Regions from separate parts of the Homo sapiens genome. Here regions 2 and 3 are each linked to region 1. The links are contacts of gene promoters, found by promoter capture Hi-C in blood cells and fetal thymus (Javierre and others, 2016). All regions are on one chromosome and are shown on one strand. The core of a region is centred on a gene start or on the middle of the fragment in contact, and the rest is flanking DNA. Distances in the headings are between cores, read along the strand shown.

Evidence for each region. Contacts are between HindIII fragments. The CHiCAGO score rates a contact against its expected background, and 5 or more counts as called.
Region 2: a contact is called between a fragment that was not itself captured here and the fragment with the promoter of EIF2B3 in region 1, in 2 of 17 cell types (naive CD4 T cells and total B cells). The highest score is 6.1, in naive CD4 T cells.
Region 3: a fragment that was not itself captured here is called in contact with the fragment with the promoter of EIF2B3 in region 1 in 2 of 17 cell types (naive CD4 T cells and total CD8 T cells); the score reaches 6.0 in naive CD4 T cells.

What each region holds. Positions count from the first base shown.
Region 1 is chr1:44,984,401-44,988,791 of GRCh38, reverse strand. It overlaps EIF2B3 (eukaryotic translation initiation factor 2B subunit gamma), which reads left to right and starts at 2,197. Exons shown (of 12, transcript NM_020365.5): 1 at 2,197-2,299. It also overlaps the pseudogene PPIAP35. RefSeq lists enhancers at 1,854-1,903, 1,614-2,195, 2,154-2,423 and a silencer at 1,974-2,063. The HindIII fragment of the contact is 3,433 bases long and covers 1-2,983 here.
Region 2 is chr1:45,609,702-45,614,092 of GRCh38, reverse strand. It overlaps NASP (nuclear autoantigenic sperm protein), which reads right to left. Exons shown (of 15, transcript NM_002482.4): 7 at 845-924. Among named protein-coding and RNA genes, the nearest start is that of CCDC17, 12 kb to the left of the region's middle. The HindIII fragment of the contact is 216 bases long and covers 1,687-1,902 here.
Region 3 is chr1:45,518,903-45,523,293 of GRCh38, reverse strand. PRDX1 (peroxiredoxin 1) reads left to right here and starts at 1,410. Exons shown (of 6, transcript NM_181697.3): 1 at 1,410-1,465; 2 at 4,240-4,356. The coding sequence starts at 4,251. RefSeq lists an enhancer at 932-1,011 and a silencer at 2,054-2,216. The HindIII fragment of the contact is 543 bases long and covers 1,810-2,352 here.

The DNA of each region.
Region 1 (4,391 bases), core at 948-3,447:
TGTTAAAAGCAGGGTCTCGGCTTTGCAAATGCAGCCACCGACGCCAGGAGCTCTGTACGATCAGCCATGGTTAACCCCACCGTGTTCGACATCGCTGTCGACGGCAAGCCCTTGGGCCGCGTGTCCTTCGAGCCGTTTGCAGACAAGGTTCCAAAGGCAGCAGAAAACTTTCGTGCTCTGAGCAATGTAGAGAAAGGATTTGGTTATAAAGGTTCCTGCTTTCACAGAATTATTCCAGGGTTTATGTGTCAGGGTGGTGACTTCACATGCCATAATGGCACTGGTGGCAAGTACACCTGCGGGGAGAAATTTGATGACGAGAGCTTCGTCCTAAAGCATACACATCCTGGCATCTTGTCCATGGCAAATGCTGGACCCAACACAAATGGTTCCCAGTGTTTCATCTGCACTGCCAAGACTGAGTGGCTGGATGGCAATCCTGTGGTCTTTGGCAAGGTGAAAGAAGGCATGAATATTGTGGAGGCCATGGGGCACTTTGGGTCCGAGAATGGCAAGACCAGCAAGAAGATCACCATTGCTGACTGTGGACAACTCTAACAAGTTTGGCTTTTGTTTTATCTTAACCACCAGACCATTCCTTTTGTAGCTCAGAAGAGCACCCCTTCACCCCATTTGCTTGCAGTATTTTTTTTTTTTTTTTTTTTTGAGACGCTGTCTCACCCTGTCGCCCTCTCCCAGGCTGAAGTGCAGTGGCACGATCTCGGCTCACTGCAACCTCCACTTCCCGGGTTCAAGCAATTCTCTTTCCTCAGCCTCCCGAGTAGCTGGGACTACAGGCGCACGCCGCCATGCCTGGCTAATTTTTTCTTTCTTTCTTTCTTTCTTTTTTTTTTTTTTTTTGTATTTTAGTAGAGACGGGGTTTCACCATGTTGCCCAGGCTGATCTTGAACTCCTGAGCTCAGGCAATCTGCCTGCCTCGGCCTCCCAAAGTGCTAGGATTACAGACGTGAGCCACCACGCCCGGCCTGCTCGCAGTATCTTATCTTTGTGCTCTTGCTGCAGTTCCCTTTGGGTTCCATGTTTTCCTTGTTCCTTTCCATGCCTAACTGGATTGCTGAGTTAAGTTTATGATTATGAAATAAAAACTAAATTAAAAAAAAAAAACAGGGTCTCACTCTGTCGTCTAGGCAGGAGGAGTGCAGTGGCCCGATCATAGCTCACTGCAGCCTCGAACTCCTGGGCTCAAGCGATCCTCCCGTTTCAGCCTCCTGAGCAGCTGGGACTACAGGCACACACTACCATGCCCAGCTAATTTTTACTTTTGTAGAGACTGGAGGCTCTCTCGCACAGGCTGGTCTTGAACGCCCGGTTTCAAGCAATCCTCCCACCTCGGCTTCCCAAATTGCGGAGATTACAGGCATGAGCCACCATGCCCAGCCGCCCCCAGTTTTGATGGCTAAAGTTAACGTGAGTGGCCCTGTTACAAATAGGAAGTCCCGGGCCGGGCGCGGTGGCTCACGCCTGTAATCCCAGCACTTTGGGAGGCCGAGGCGGGCGGATCACGAGGTCAGGAGATCGAGACCATCCTGGCTAACACAGTGAAACCCCCGTCTCTACTAAAAATACAAAAAAATTAGCCGGGCATGGTGGCAGGCGCCTGTAGTCCCAGCTCCTCGGGAGGCTGAGGGAGGAAAATGGCGTGAACCCGGGAGGCCGAGCTTGCAGTGAGCCGAGATCGCGCCACTGCACTCCAGCCTGGGCGACGCAGAGCGAGACTCCGTCTCAAAAAAAACAAAAAACAAACAACAACAACAACAACAACAAAAACAAATAGGAAGTCCTGGCAACCCCTGCAGGGGCATTCGGTGATTTTTTTCACTAGCTAGCCAAAATTGCGGCTCCCAATGAGCTTTCTTTCACCGAATGTACTCGAAGCCAGGTCTTAGACTTACTCCCTGAGGAAAGAGGCTGAGTTGTTCCGTCTGGGTTCCCGGCACCCTGCACTGGGAGGAATACTCAAAAGGCGTTGGTAATGTGTTAATGGACAGAGGGACACACGTGTCGAATGCTCCTCGGTGGCCCCGCCCCCTCCGGCCCGCCTTCCCTCCTCTCCGCTGAGTGTGCTTCCCCTCCGTCATCCATCGCTCGGCGGTCTTCTCTTCTCCATGGGTCTGCTCTGCGCGTTCCATCGAGTTTCTCGGCCATCGCGCGCCTGCGCCATTGGGCTGTCAGTCAGAGGCGGCGTGGAGATCGCTGGGAGCGGTTGCGGCGTGCCGGGAGCTGAGTTATAGCTGTGACTTCTGCCCTGCCAGGCCGCACACAAGCTGGCTGACCCGGGTGAGCAGTGCGGTGGGGCCACTCATCTGAGGGAGGCGGGCATGTCGAACTGGGCCGAGGTGGACCCGAAGGGGTAGGAGAGGGTGCTGAGCCCCGAAGTTGTCAGCTCGACTCCCTGCTCGACCCGGTGTAGCTGTGTCCGAAGTAGAAGGGAGGTTGGGGATGAGAATCCGAGCCAACCACCTTATGCAACAGATGGAGGAACTAAGTTTCTAATCTCAGCTACTCGAGAGTCTGAGGCAGGAGAATCGTTTGAACCCAGGAGGTGGAGGTTGCAGTGAGCCTAATTCGCGCCACTGCACTCCAGCCTGGGCAACATAGTGAGACTCTCCGTTTCAAAAAAAAAAAAAAAAAGAAAAGAAAAGAAAGAAACGAAGTTTCGGGGAGGGTTCTGCTTAAAGTCACAGCGAGTGAGCGAGCACCAGACCGGTACCAGACGCCTTTAGCACTGTGCCTGCACTCTTTCAGCCTCAGCCCTTCATTCATTTGTTCAGCCTGCCTTTAGTTGTTTGGATGCAGGGCAGTGAAATATAGGGAGGAGCAGTGAGGTCTCTGCCTTCAGGCAGCACACGTGGAATGACAGACCAATTCTGATACAGTTTTCTTATCTATTTACAACTGGAAAAGGCATGAGTGCTATGATGCAGGCAAGTCTGAGATGCGGTGAACACCCTCTCCAAAGCTTGGGAGGCAGCGAGACTCGTTGCCATGATTCCCGTCAGCCATAGTCGTGGCAGTGACATGAGCATTTGACAGTCTGCCTGGTAGCATGATTAGTTATGTTCATGATTACTATTCATGCTTCCTAGGTTGCCTTTCTTCACCCAGGGCCTCCTTGAGAGCTGGAACCTCAGTTCCTAGTGACCTGGGTTCTAATGCCCTTATGCACATGTTTGAGTTTGACTCTTATACAGTTGTGAAGTTCACAGGTCCTCATTCCACTTTGATTTCTGGCATCTGACTGGGAATACAGTGATGATGCACACACAGTCCAAGAAAGTCACTCTTACACTCTTATGTAGACATTTAAGAGACATTAATGTTACACTTAAGTAGACATTTAAACACATACGTGCAATGAAACCCGTAAAGGCTAAGAGAATCTGCACATGGCAGAATGGAAGCACTTCGGGAAAAGGAGTCACTTCTGGAGGGGTGGGAACGGTTAGGAATGGCTTTGTAGGCAAGAGGATTCTTGAGCTGTCTTCAAAGTTTAATAGGTGATTACTAGACACAAGAGAAAGGCAGACTAGGAAGCAACAGTAGCAGTGCAGAGACCAGAATTATGAAGCAGCATGGCTCAATTAGTACGAAGGTTTTCCATAATCTAGTCTCTGTCTAGTAAAGCAAATACAAATATAGTGCTTCTCATAAGATGGACATTATTGGCCGGGCGCGGTGGCTCACGCCTGTAATCCCAGCACTTTGGGAGGCCGAGGCGGGTGGATCATGAGGTCAGGAGATCGAGACCATCCTGGCTAACAAGGTGAAACCCCGTCTCTACTAAAAATACAAAAAATTAGCCGGGCGCGGTGGCGGGTGCCTGTAGTCCCAGCTACTCGGGAGGCTGAGGCAGGAGAATGGCGTGAACCCGGGAAGCGGAGCTTGCAGTGAGCCGAGATTGCGCCACTGCAGTCCGCAGTCCGGCCTGGGCGACAGAGCGAGACTCCGTCTCAAAAAAAAAAAAAAAAAAAAGATGGACATTATTTTGTCTGCTTTACGTAGAATAACAAATTTAATCTTAACAACAACTCTGTGAAGTGAAACTATAATTATCCCCATCATAAAATGCAAAAATTGAGGCATAGAAAATTTACGTAGTTTGCCCTAGTTCACACAGCTAATAATAAATAGTAGAGCTAGAATTCAAACCTAGGCATTCTAGCTCTATGGTCTGTGAACCTAACCACCAGGCTTCCTTCTAGAAGCTGAGGACACTGAGAGTTTTAAATGTCAGGCCCCTGATCACACCTATGAGTGTCAGAATCATGACTCAAACTCATCTTTTGACTTTTTTTTTTTGGGACAGGGTCTCACTCTGTTGCCCAGGCTGGAGTGCAGTGGTGTGCAGCCTTAACCTCCCAGGCTCAGG
Region 2 (4,391 bases), core at 545-3,044, 630 kb before region 1:
AAGTATAACCAAATAATAAAAAGATAGGCATCTTTTTCAAATACAAATCTAAATGTATAACTTAGCGTAGCTTAAAAAAAGTTGATATACGATTCAAAATTTGGACTTTCTCCCTAAAATCTAGAGAATGGGTCCACATACTGTCTTAAGTCATGACCATGTCACTGATATTTTAACAGTGAAATGTTGGCTCACATACTAACACACAAGAACCCCAGGATCAAATATATCCACCCATCCTAGGCATGAATAAAGGGTCCCTAATCCATAATCAAGAGACAGTTATCTATAATAATCATGCCTAGGGCTGGGCATGGTGGGTTATGCCTATAATCCCAACACTTTGGGAGGCTGAGGCAGGAGAATAACTTGAAGCCAGGTTTGAGACCAGCCTGGGCAGCACAGCAAGACAGCCGTCTAAACAAAATAAAATTAGAGAACAAATTAGCCAGACATGGTGGCAGACATCTGGAGACCTAGCTATCTGAGAAGATGAGGCAGAAGGATTCCTTGAACCCAGGAGGCTAAAGATACAGTGAGCCCTGATCATGCCAGTGCACTCCGGCCTGGGCAGAGACAGAGATTCTATCTCTTAAAAAAATAATAATCGTGCCTAAACTAGGTAAGCTACAGTCCTGCAAACTAGCTGGGCATGTTGGCACAAGCCTGTAGTCCCAGCTACTTGAGAGGCTGAGGTGAGGCGATCACTTAAGCCCGGGTCTAGGCTGCAGTGAGCCATGATCATGATCACCCCACTGCAATCCAGCCTAGGCAACAAGAGTGAGCTCCAGTCTCCCAAAAACAGAAAAAGGCTGACAACAGTACTGAGTGGCTAACAACATACCTTGTTTTCAAGGACTGAATCATTTGGCATTTCTTCGGTCTTATCATTTTCTTTATCATCCTCTTCTGAGCCTTCAGTTTCTACAAGTAAAAATTCCTCAGTATTGAGAATATAACTAAGAACGTATTCTGACTAGTCAGAGATTCCAATACACGTCTCAACCTATATTCAGATAGGACAGGCCAGATGCTAATCCAAGTGAGTTAACACCTGAACTGAATATATCGTCAGTGGGTGCAGTCTAGTTCAAGTGTAACCTAGACTAAGAATGTGCAATCTTAGTCTATGGGTCAGACCTTCAGCAATTAAAAGGCTGAGTGTTTCTCTTATAAAAGTCAACCTGGACCATTCAGAATAAGAAACATTGGCTACTGCCTCTTATTCAATGGCTAGAAGCTCCCATTCATTCAGCCAGAAGCAGGTGGAGACCTCAGTCAGTGTTTCTGGTATCTTTAAGCCACTCATTAGATAATACTAATAGCCTGGGAAAGTACGAAAGTTAAATTATTCCAGTCCATTCTGATCAAGAATGCTCAAGAGACTAGCTTTCCCACAACAGAGATGTGGAGCAAAAAGCATAGTCCTTACCGACTTACACCAATGAGCATGCCACAGACTCCAGCCAGCTCTAGCACATACAGAATTTGAGTAAGGAATACTATAACCCCTATTTTACTCCTATACCTTTGCTAATGACACCTCTAAAATCTGCAGCCATATATCAACACCATATTTCACCATATTGAATACACTCACAAGTCAACCATCTAAAGGTCAGGCTCCTAATCAATAGCGCTACTGTGATTAGACAAATCAACAATGTTAAGTGATTAAAATAAGCTTTCTGTTAACACAAACAACTCATGAATTGGATATAATATGCCTCTCTCTGCCATCTTTCATTATGCATTTTTAACACCAGCAAAAAAGCTCAAACACTATCTCCAAACACTCTTACTATGGGAATATAAATATGGCAATTAGGACTTAGAGCAATCGTCAGGTCAAAGGAGTTTTATCAGCAGCAACCACAAAGAGATTCCGTTTTCAAAGAAGCTTAGAAAATACTTTAACAGGGTCAGGCGCGGTGACTCACGCCTGTAATCCCAGCTCTTTGGGAGGCCGAGGCGGGCGGATCACGAGGTCAGGAGATTGAGACCATCCTGGCGAACATGGTGAAACCCCGTCTCTACTAAAAAAAAAAACCAAAAAACAAAAAAATTAGCCAGGTGTGGTGGCAGGCGCATGTAGTCCCAGCTACTTGGGAGGCTGAGGCAGGAGCATGGCGTGAACCCAGGAGGTGGAGCTTGCAGTGAGCGGATTATCGCACCACTGCACTCCAGCCTGGGTGACAGAGCAAGACTCCGTCTCAAAAAAAAAAAAAAAAAAAAAAGATACTTTAACAAATTTACTGAGGACATCAGGGCATTGCCATTGATACCTGGGCACAAGTTGGGAAAGGTTTTAAAGTAATGGCAATGGCTGCCAGGCGCGGTGGCTCACACCTGTAATCCTAGCACTTTGGGAGGCCAAGGTGGGCAGATCACCAGGTCAGGAGATTGGGACCATCCTGGCTAACACGGTGAAACCCCGTCTCTACTAAAAATACAAAAAATTAGCCAGGCGTGGTGGCACATGCCTGTAGTCCCAGCTACTCGGGAGGCGGAGGCAGAACAATCACTTGAACCTAGGAGGCGGAGGTTGCAGTGAGCCTAGATCACGCCACTGCATTCCAGCCTGGGTGACAGAGCAAGACTCTGTCTCAAAAAAAAAAAAAAAAAAAAAAAAAAAAGTAATGGCGATGGCTTTCTCCTTAACCTAGCTCCCCACCATTCCTTGAAGATGGTACAGATTCCTCAAGAGGAACCAGTAATATTCTTCTGAAGCAATTATAGGAATTTTAATTTAAAAATTTGATGTAAAACTTCCAAGTAATTAAGATATTTTGTTTCAAATTAGAGGTTGTCTTCTAGTATTCTGGTATGAGTAGGAAGAGATACCAGGTAAGAATAGAAGATAACAATATCAATTTAATTTTTCCTACAAATTGGGAAGATGAAGTATTTACTTTTCTATCAATTATCCTACATATGTAAATCTACTTCAGCTTTTCTGCATATTCTGCTAGAGGATGGGCAGAGTTAATAAGACCATCCATCTGGTCTAACTTTGGGGAACTAAGCCCGGACCCACTTGGAAATGTGGATATGAGAAGATAATGGTGTATGGTGGGCCAGGTGCAATGGTTCACACCTGTAATCCCAGCACTCTGGGAGGCTGAGGCTAGTGGATCACCTGAGGTCAGGAGTTCGAGACCAACCTGGCCAGCATGGTGAAATCCCATCTCTAGTAAAAATACAAAAAAATTAGTCGGGCCTGGGGACATGTGCCTTTAGTCCCAGCTACTCAGGAGGCTGACGTAGGAGAATCGCTTGAACCTGGGAGATGCAGGTTGCAGTGAGCGAGACCGCACCACTGCACCCCAGCTGGGCATGGTGATACACACCCATAGTCTCAGCTGCCTGAGAGACTGAGGGAGGAAGATGGCTTCAGCATAGGAGTTTGAGGCTGTCGTGAGCCATGACTGCGATGCCACTGTACTCCAGCCTGGCAAAAGAGCAAGACCCGATTCAAAGAGAAAAAGAACAGACCAATTATCTTTATTAGAAGCAAATGTACAGCCCAACACATGGCAAAGAGTCAAGAGGTGGCAGTAAACAGGGTTTTAATTTTTAAGTGAAAAAAACTGCTTGGAAGTTTTCTGCAGAATGGTGCTGCCACGTAAAGGGAAATAAAGCACAGAAAGTAAGTGGTTGAGTACTCAAGCCAGAAGTTTGGGTAGCAGGCTTCTCCTTACTGTGTGACTAGGGCAAGTTACTTAAACCCCTTTCTCCCATTTCTTCTTTTGTAAAATATGGAAAACTGTATTGTCTTTACAAGCAGAACAGTATCTGATATACAACACCAAAAAATGCAGCATATGAAAAGCCTGGGGCTTTTAAAATATAGTTAACTTTTTAAATAAGTGACAGATTTTTTTTTTCTTTTGGAAGACAGAGACTCGCTGTGTTGCCCAGGCTGGAGCACAGCGGCATGATCTCAGCTCACTGCAACCTCTGCCTCCCGGGTTCAAGCGATTCTTCTGGTTCAGCCTCCCAAGTAGCTGGGACCACAGGCGCATGCCACCACGTCCAGCTAATTTTTGTATTTTTAGTAGAGTCAAAGTTTCAACATATTGGCCAGGCTGGTCTCAAACTTCTGACCATGTGATCTGCCCACCTCGGCCTCTCAAAGTGCTGGGATACAGGTGTGAAGCTACTGCGCCCAGCCCACGACAAAATTTCTAAGCAGTGGGTGTAGGAAAAGGATGAACACTGTCTTCTTCAATGTGTGGTAACTTGGGAAGAATAATATATTCAAGGCAGATCTGGGTTCAGATTCAGTATTATGACCCTAAACAAGTCATGTAACCTTTAAACCTCAACCTCATCACTGTAACTTGGGCAATACTACCTATCACATAGTATTGTTTTAGGATCAGATGTAA
Region 3 (4,391 bases), core at 832-3,331, 530 kb before region 1:
GACAGGGTTTCACCATGTTGGCCAGGATGGTCTCGATCTCCTGACCTTATGATCCGCCCTCCTAGGTGGCCTAAATCTACATTTTTACATAAGATAAGGTGAATGTTTGAAGAAAAAGGGAATGGAGGAAGAAAACAATTATGTGGTGGACTCAGGGTAATCTAGTAGTAAGGTACTACTAGAAAGGTAGAAAGTAGTCTAGTAGAAAGGTAATCTAGTAGTGAACATTTATGGAATTTGTGGAATAGAGGCCAGGTGCGGTGGCTCGCGCTTACATTCCTAGCACTTTGGGAGGCCAAGGCGGGCGGATCACCTGAGGTCAGGCGTTGGAGACCAGCCTAGCCAACATGATGAAACCTCGTCTCTACTAAAAATACAAAAAATTAGCTGGGCGTGGTGGTGCGTGCTTGTAGTCCCAGACACTCCGGAGGTGAGGCGGGAGAATCGCTTGAGCCCGGGAGGTGGAGGTTGCAGTAAGCCAACACCGTGCCACTGCACTACAGCCTGGGCGACAGGGTGAGTGAGACTCCGTCTCAAAAAAATGTGGAATAGAACAAACTTTAGTTTTAGGAACTAGACTTTATATTGTAGATCTAGTTGCAATTGACACGTCCTTGTTTTATGGGAGGCTACATACTTTAAAGGTTTCCAGGGGAGCAAATAATTAATTATGATTTTGTGTATGTGTGTTTGTGGGGGGTAGTCATCAGGAAATGTCTGAGGCCTTTTGCCTTACCGTGTGGGTCTGGCTAATGTGTAATGTTTTGACTCAAGATTGTAAAGTCAAATTATTCATCCGGGGAGAGGATGGTCGTGTAACTGAATCAGCCTCCCAAGATGAACTTTCCCTCTGGCGTAAGTTTAGGAGTCCTGATATTTTATTTTCCTTTACAACAGAAAGCAGCAACCCTGTAATTAAAGAGAACAATGAAGGAAGCTATCTAAGCCATGAGGGTTACTGAGGATCTGCGCTGGGGTTAAGGCTGCGAACTTAAGAAATATTTGGATAGACAGTTCTCATGGCTTGGTGTGGTTAGACGTGGTCCTCCGTGGGCAGCAGCTAAGACGCTTACTCCAGTTTGGGCATTGAGGGCACAGTGCGTAGTGGTCCTGGAAGTAAAGAGAATCCTGGTTTTCCGCAGAGATCTAGGATTAACCTAAGCGTTCGGGTTCGGGAGCGGCCACAAGGGCGCCTCACTCCAACCTCAGCCATCCGCAACAGGGTGGGGTATTAGTATTTTTCCGCACCCGCCCCAACGAGGGAAAGCGCCGAGTCATTCCGGCGGGGCGCGCCGGGCGGGGCTCGGGCCACATCCCCCTCCTCTCTCTCCTCCTCCGGCACCCCCGTCCGTTCCGACTCTCGCGAGATCCCTACTGGCTATAAAGGCAGCGCCCCGGAGAGCTCTTGCGCGTCTTGTTCTTGCCTGGTGTCGGTGGTTAGTTTCTGCGACTTGTGTTGGGACTGGTGAGTGTGGGCAGTGCGGCCCCTGCGGAGTGAGGCGCGGCGCGCCCTTCTTGCCTGTTGCCTCTTCCTCCTCCTGTCCGGGGCCCGCCCGCGCTCGGGTGGGGGTGCTGTGATGCGTGAGGCAGCCGGGGGAGGCCCGGAGTCCGAGACTGCTTGAGCGCTGCGCACACCCCTCTCGTGGGCCCCCCACGTAGGTGCGGGAACCTGGTTGAACCCCAAGGCAAGCGTGGACTCGAGTCGAGTCTTCCCCCGGCAACTCGAGCACGTGGCGCGGCGTCTGGGCGGGCTGGTGGTGGGGGTCTCCGAGACTAGCCTCCTGCCGGACGGGGTGGGTTCGGGAAGCTTCTGGAATGGACCTGTATCCAGACTCGTGGCTGTAGAAGACAGCCTCTATGTATTTGGCTGTTCCGGGTCCTGAGCCTTGACTAGCTGCGGAGCTTCGGGTACCCTTTCCCCGTCTTTATTTTCCTGTACGTGGAATGGAGTTAGCGATGAGCCCAAATGTCCCCGCTGAAGCACTCTCTCTGCTGGTGCTTTCTCCAGTGCTGGGGAGGGACAGGGGGCACCTGAAGTGGGGTTTAGGGATGTGGCCCTCTACGCTGGGCAGATCCCCTGAAGGGGCCCGGTGGCGGCCTGAATCCCAGCAGCCTTTACCCCGAATTGGTTGGGTTTTGTACTTGGGGGCCACTTGGGAAAGAAGGATTGGACGAGAAGGCCATTTGGGGGCACCAAGTTGCAGCATGCCTTAGTTTTTGGTTTTTGTTTTTTGTCGTTAAAGGTGTTAAGGACTTTTTAAAAAACAGTTAAAAGTTTGCTAAGATCCATGCTTACAAAATTTCTTTTGCTTGTGGTATTGTGAACTAAGAACTTTGGGACTTGGAAAAGCTTTCAGACCGCGGCTTAGTGGGTTAAATCTCTGTTTTTTGAGCTAGAGTCTCGCTCTGTCGGCCAGGCTGGAGTGCAGTGGCGCGGTCTCGGCTTACTGCAACCCCTGTCTCCCGAATTCAAGCAATTCTTCTGCCTCAGCCTTAGGAGTAGCTGGGATTACAGGCTTGTGCCACCAAGCCCCGGCTAATTTTTGTATTTTTTTTTTTTTTTTTTTTTTGAGACGGAGTCTCGCTCTGTCGCCCAGGCTGGAGTGCAGTGGCTGGATCTCGGCTCACTGCAGCCTCCGCCTCCCGGGTTCACGCCATTCTCCTGCCTCAGCCTCCCGAGTAGCTGGGACTGCAGGCGCGTGCCACCACCCCCGGCTAATTTTTTGTATTTTTGTTAGAGACGGGGTTTCACTATGATGGCCAGGCTGGTCTCGAACTTCTGACCTCAGGTGATCTGCCTGCCTCGGCCTCCCAAAGTGCTGGGATTACAGGCTTGAGCCACAGCGCTTGGCCAAGATCTCAATACTAATCTTGGTGTTGATCTGGGTGAATCCAGTGCAACCTTCCTTTTCAGCAGTAAATTGATTCTTATACTTGTTTTCGCCCTGGGATATTAGCCCCAAAGTCAGGAACCCACCTTCACAAATGGTGAAGGGAATTCTAGGGCTTACACAATACCTAAAGATTTGAAATTAAGCAGATGCCAATCAATATCTTGGTCTTGCCTCTTTTTTTTTTTTTTTTTTTTGGAGACAGAGTCTCACTCTGTTGCCCAGGCTGGAGTGCAGTGGCGCGATCTCAGCTTACTGCAACCTCTGCCTCCCGGGTTCAAGTGATTCTCCTGCTTCAGCCTCCTGAGTAGTTGCGATTACAGGCATGCACCACCACGCCCGACTAATTTTTGTGTTTCTAGTAGAGACGGGGTTTCACCATGTTGGCCAGACTGGTCTCGAACTCCTGACCCGGTGATCCGCCCGCCTGAGCCTCTCAAAGTGCTGGGATTACAGGTGTGAGACACTGCGCCCAGTGGTCTTGCCTCTTAAAAGTTGGACTGACTGGAAGGGCGCGGTGGCTCACGCCTGTAATCCCAGCATTTTGGGAGACTGAGTTGGGCAATCATCTGAGGTGAGGAGTTTGAGACTAGCCTGACCAACATGGAGAAATCCCGTCTCTAATAGAAGTACAAAAAAATTAGCCGGGTGTGGTGGCCTGCGCCTGTAATCCCAGCTACTATGGAGGCTGAGGCAGGAGAATCCCTTGAACCTGAGAGGTGGAGGTTGCAGTGAGCCGAGATAATGCCATTGCATTCCAGCCTGGGCCCCAAGAGCGAAACTCCGTCAAAAAAACAAAACAAAACAAAAACAAATAAAACAAGTTGAATTAGTTATAGGTTGTGTGCTGTCTTGGACAAAGCTACCTGGAGAAAAGTCAAATATGCTTCTGATGTTATGAAGGCAGGTGGAGGCACAGTGATGGGAAAGGTCAACGTGACTTTTGGGGAGCCAAACAAAAGTGTTTGTGGCATTGTGCATTTGGATTCTGGTTTGAGAGTCTTCATCTGCCTCTCTCTCTGCTTCTGTATAATGAATAAGATGCCACTGCACTAATTATGGTTCAGAAAGAATGAGAGGTTATCTCAGTATATAAAGAAATTGCCTTGCTGTTTTTAAATGAAAACAAAGGCTGAGATTCAGAGACTTGTTTCGTTCCAAAAGTTGGAAAGCTCAGACTGTGACCCTTGACTGCTGGCTGGAGCTTCTTACTAAAACAACATTTAATGTATTCAGGGACACTGGACAATGCCTTGATTGTTTACAGCTAAGTCTCTTTAAGTAGGTGAAGGCTGCTGGTTATGTAGAAAATTAAGGCTTGTTTCTAATTCATTTCTGTTATTTCTAGCTGATAGGAAGATGTCTTCAGGAAATGCTAAAATTGGGCACCCTGCCCCCAACTTCAAAGCCACAGCTGTTATGCCAGATGGTCAGTTTAAAGATATCAGCCTGTCTGACTACAAAGGTGAGAGAATTAACACTGGGCTCATTGAGATGGAG